Linked DNA regions of Homo sapiens: region 1 is linked to region 2. Evidence: promoter capture Hi-C in 16 types of primary human blood cells and fetal thymus (Javierre and others, 2016). All regions are on one chromosome and are shown on one strand. The core of a region is centred on a gene start or on the middle of the fragment in contact, and the rest is flanking DNA. Distances in the headings are between cores, read along the strand shown.

The links. Contacts are between HindIII fragments. The CHiCAGO score rates a contact against its expected background, and 5 or more counts as called.
Region 1: a fragment that was not itself captured here is called in contact with the fragment with the promoter of H2AC1 in region 2 in 1 of 17 cell types (megakaryocytes); the score reaches 5.7 in megakaryocytes.

The regions. Positions count from the first base shown.
Region 1 is chr6:25,878,133-25,880,832 of GRCh38, reverse strand. No RefSeq gene overlaps it. Among named protein-coding and RNA genes, the nearest start is that of SLC17A3, 5.2 kb to the right of the region's middle. The HindIII fragment of the contact is 2,575 bases long and covers 1-2,539 here.
Region 2 is chr6:25,725,121-25,727,820 of GRCh38, reverse strand. H2AC1 (H2A clustered histone 1) reads left to right here and starts at 1,259. Exons shown (of 1, transcript NM_170745.3): 1 at 1,259-1,758. The coding sequence starts at 1,294. The coding sequence ends at 1,689. H2BC1 (H2B clustered histone 1) reads right to left here and starts at 1,044. Exons shown (of 1, transcript NM_170610.3): 1 at 476-1,044. The coding sequence starts at 912. The coding sequence ends at 529. It also overlaps a transcript of SLC17A1 not described here. The HindIII fragment of the contact is 12,318 bases long and covers 1-1,583 here.

The DNA of each region.
Region 1 (2,700 bases), core at 3-2,502, 150 kb before region 2:
TGACCTAGAGTAAAGAAAGAAGCATGCGTACAAAACACAACCTTTGACTTTGGAGTCCAGAGGAGAAATAGATGTAGCTGCCCAATAAACCCACAGGGTAATGAAAAGTGAAGCAATTACATGGTTGAACAATTATCTTCTAGGCCGTCCTTTTTGAAAGTCCAACCAAAAGCATTATGTCTGGGAATCAGAGGCATTATCAATAGAAATAAAATACATAAAACGTGCAGTAAAGAGAAGAATTTTAACCCTTTTGGAGTATGACTGACCTAGAGTAAAAAATATACATTTTTAAAGTGTGCTGCAATACTAATATATAGGCTTATATGTAAACACATGTGTTGCAGCATCGAAAGTTTCACAAAATAATCCTGACTCTTACTAAGTGGGATGCACTATGATCTGTTCCATTCTATTTGGGCCTCATCCATCTTGTTTAAAAAACCATAGTGGCTAAATTGATAAGAGGTGCTAAATTGATAAGAGTAATGACCTGTAGGTTGAAAATCATTGGGATGATGGGAGTGACCAATCAGACAACTTGGCACTGCACCCACAAGGCTGCAACAATTGGTTCAAATGGTAATAAAGTACTCTGGGCTGGGCCAATAAGAGCCTCTCCTAGGTTTTGAACACAGCTGCTTTTTCTTCGCTTTCATGGATGTGATGAATGAGACTCCAAAACTGCCAACAGACTTGTCTGTTGCCTCTTGGAGTAGATTTAAGAGAAGGGAGAAGGTGCAAAAGAACAGCTGAAATAAGAGTTCCAAAGGTCTTCATTTATTTTGGGGCAGAGATTTAATTCCAGTCTCTGGTCCCTGGAACTGTGCTTGTTACAGCTGCTCATTCTTATATTCTGTGACCTACCTCAGTCTCCATATTTTCTTTTTCTCTTTCTTTCTCTTCCAAAGCCATTTCAGTTGGACTTCTATCACTTGTAAGCACAGGTGTCTGACAAATAGAAGCCACAACTGAGTACAATAAAAACTAAACTCTGCAATACAAAGGCCAATAAATAGGTTTGGCCCTTAATCCTCTCTTGTAACAACATTGACATGATCTTGCTCCTCATCCTGGTTTAGCACCAAGAGAAAAATAAGAGTCTGAGTGGGAGAGGGAGGAATCAAAAGGAACTGAGCCAAATTAAGAGCTTTTGGTGTAAATGTTGGAAGCTGAGAAAAGCCATGTCAAGCCGCAGCAAACTCCCCTTCATAAAGGAGGCAGAGGGAAAAAATAAAATAAAAAAGAGGAGAATAAGAGAGAAATTACCCTTTTCATTTTTCTCCAAGCTAAGACTTGCAATCTAGCTACACTTTAAGTGATTGATGTGGTCACTAGGGGCTAAGAAATAAAAATGTTTCAGGTAAGAACATGGAGCTCCCAGATTCAAAATGCCAGCACCTCATACACCCATCCCGGCAGCACAACCAACATTCACCCTCATCTGCTAAGACAAGTTCTCAGAATCAGAAAGTTCATTAACCTGAACTTCAGTAGTAAATAACATTTAAGTTTTGGAAAGGTATTCTTCTATTTGGCAATTCAACACCATCGCTTGTAACAAAAACCAATAGACAAGTACAACTCAACATCCTCAAGACAGAGCACCAAAATTAACAGAAAAACTAGAACCCCTCTCCAAACTAGAAGAATGTTAGTATAAATATTTAACATAAATAAATGAATAATATCAGAAATATATGCTGACATACTTAAAACAAAAATTAGATATGTGAAAAGGAAGGTTTTCTTAGAAATGACAAATATCCTTAGAATTAGGGAAGAAGGAAAGAAATAAGAAAGGAAGGGAAAGAGGAAGGAAAGAATAAGAAAAAAATGAAGCAGGGAAGAAGGAAGGAAAGGAGAGAAGGAGGGAAGGAGGGAGGAAGGAAGAAGGAAAGAAGGAAGGAAGGAAGGGAAGGAAGGTAGGCAGGTGATCTCAGGAATTTGGAAGAAAATTGATACAGGTGAAATTCACAGTAATGCCAAGATACAAAAGGAAGAATAATGAGAGGGAAATTTTATAGGAAACTGATGTTGAAAGTTGGTTTCAATGTTTGCGTAACAGATGAAATAGTCTGGAGGGTAAGAGAATGGACACAACAGCCAGACTTTCTGGGTGGTTGGATTCCTGACTCCGTAGCTTACTAGCAAGTTACTTAACCTCTCTGTAAACTGGCATAATAATAGTACCTACCATAGAAGTTTGCTATGAGAAGTAAAAGTGTTATTGTATGTAAAGTGCTTAGAATAGTGTTCAGCACGTATTTAGTGTTAAATAGGCCTTATTACAAGGAGTCTCTGAAAAGGGGGTGAGGGGCAGAGTAGAAGAATGATTACAAAGAAAGAGATAACCACCATCTTTATTTGAGGATATATTTAGTAAATTAAATTATATGGAAAATTATTTTGGAATATTGGTTGGAATGGCATATGGATTAGTCTGGAGAGACGAGATTTTTACATTTTTGAATGTTCCTGTTCATAAAAATGTTATGTCTCTTTATTTAGTTCGACTTCAATACCTTACAATAAAGCTTTACAATTTTCTGCGTAACGATCTTCTACATCTTTTATTAGATTTATTCCTAGGTTTTATATCCTTTTGTGGCTGTTACATTCTTTTATTGCCATTGTGAATTGTATCTCTTTTTATAATATCTTTTTTTTTGTTTTGGGCTGGTAATTAAAATGCAGTCA
Region 2 (2,700 bases), core at 10-2,509:
GTCTCCGTCTCTTAACCTCATGAACCGCCAGCCTCGACCTCTGCAAGTGCTGGGATTACAGGCGAGTCACGGTGCCTAGCAAGGATTGTCTTGCTGCAACTAGTTCGTCTACCCTCGGCCCACAGCTGATTTGGATATATTCGCAGTGGCTCACGCCTGTAGTCCCAGCACTTTGGGAGACCGAGGTGGGTGATCACCAGATCGAGTTTGAGACCATCCTGGCCAACATGGTGAAACCCCGTCTCTACTAAAAATACAAAAATTAGCCGGGTGTAGTGGTGGGAGCCTGTAGTCCCAGCTGCTCAGGAGGCTGAGGCAGGAGAATGGCGTGAACTCAGGAGGCAGAGCTTGCAGTGAGCCGAGATTCCGCCACTGCACTCCAGCCTGGGAGAGTGAGACTCCGCCTCAAAAAAAAAAAAAACCCTTACGGTTAGAAACTACACAAAAACGAAGCCCACAGCTGTTTCAGTATGTTTAAGTGGCTCTGAAAAGAGCCTTTGGGTTAGAAATGACGTTTACTTAGCAGGCTTACTTGGAGCTGGTGTACTTAGTGACAGCCTTGGTGCCCTCAGACACAGCATGTTTAGCCAGCTCTCCCGGCAGTAGCAAGCGCACTGCTGTCTGAATCTCTCTGGAAGAAATGGTGGAGCGCTTGCTGTAGTGAGCCAAACGTGATGCCTCGCTCGCTATACGCTCAAAGATATCAGTGACGAAGGAATTCATAATGCTCATAGCTTTCGAAGAGATGCCAGTGTCCGGATGGACCTGCTTTAGCACTTTGTAGATGTAAATAGAATAACTCTCCTTACGGGTCCTCTTGCGCTTTTTGCCTTCCTTTTTCTGGGTCTTAACGACAGCTTTCTTAAAGCCCTTCTTGGAAATGGTAGCACCTTTAGATGACACCTCCGGCATAGCTACCACACACTTCTGCAGCGTTACACGGTTCTTTTCCAGGGTTACACAGCACTTTCCAGTGCTCAACAGCTCTTCAGTATTAAACAGCTCCAAATGACCTCAGCTCCAAGTCTCGCCAAGTAAACAAACAGAACTGGAGGATGAAAGATGCGGTATTTATAGGCACGGCCCTCAAACGCCGCGTTCGGTATCCAAAATCTGATTGGACAATGGGAAGTGGCGTGAATGCAAATGAGGCGATTCTAGTACGACTTTCTGATTGGGTAGACGGCCATCAGCCAATCAGATAGCAAATGCCAACCTCAGTCAGACTATAAATAGGCCCAGTAGCAGCCCTAGAAATGTGGTTCTCGTGTTGCTGCAATTTGATGCGAGGAGATGTCTGGACGAGGGAAGCAGGGAGGAAAAGCACGCGCCAAGTCTAAGTCTCGCTCTTCTAGAGCGGGTTTGCAGTTTCCCGTAGGCCGGATCCATCGTCTGCTTCGTAAGGGAAACTATGCAGAGCGGATAGGGGCAGGCGCACCAGTGTATTTGGCGGCAGTGTTAGAGTATCTCACAGCAGAAATCCTTGAGCTGGCAGGCAATGCGTCTCGCGATAACAAAAAAACTCGCATTATTCCCCGCCACCTGCAGCTAGCGATCCGCAATGATGAGGAACTCAATAAGCTTTTGGGCGGCGTGACCATTGCCCAGGGCGGAGTCCTGCCTAACATTCAGGCAGTGCTGCTGCCCAAGAAGACTGAGAGTCACCACCATAAAGCCCAAAGCAAGTAACTTAAGGTTGTCATTGGTAAAAAGACTTCTGTGTCAGAAAAAACAAAAGGCTCTTTTCAGAGCCACCTACCGTCTCAGAAAAAGGCTGTACGTTACAAAACGTTACTGCTGTTAACCAGCCATCTTACTTGCCTGTCACAAATGCCCGTTTAAGCGCATTTCGGGAATGTACGGGGACTGAATTTTCAAGGAGCGTTCCATCGGCCATTAGTTTGAGGTAATTTTGGTTATATATGTCACTGGGCGAGGTGGCTTAACGCTTGTGAGCAGTCAGTACTTGCACTTCAGTGGAGGTTGGAGCGGGAGGGTCGTTCAAGCCTGGGGCTTGACCGTTAACATAATTGAGACCCTGTCCCCACAGAAACTAGCTGGGTCTGGTGATGCAGGCCTGTAGTCCCAGCTGTTCGGGAGGCTGCGGTGGGAGGGTTGTTCATGAGTCCGGGAGGCGAAAGTTACAGTGAACGAAGATTGATTGCTCCACTGCACTCCAGTCTGGGTGACATGAGCGAGACTATCTCAAACTAGATTTATGTATGTTAGTTATGTTAAGGGTTACACATGGAAGTGAAAATTGCATTACAAGCAGGAGAGGTGTAATCTTCCTGTTTAAATCCAGGTAACATCAGTCTGGCTGGTTAAAGTACATTTTAGAGAATTTCCTTTCAAATATGGTAGTTTCACGAAATACTCATAATTAAATGTGGCATGTAAGTAAGTTAATCTTAAAATTTGGGTAAGCATATATATTTGATACCTGTGGTTTCACGTACTTTGTAAAGAATAATAGAATTATTTCTTAAAATGTAAGTAAAATATGTCAAAAAGAAGCCTTACGCCATATGTGATGGTGAGATACTAGTGTTAGACTCAGGCAGGAATGGGACTAGAAGGCCGAACATAATTTGAAGTTTAGAAATTTGGAAGAGTATATGCTTCAAAAGTTTTGACTGTTGAAAAGAGGCAAAATAGTTTGTTGATCTGTGTTTGCAGTTTGTGCTGTAAACACCAAGA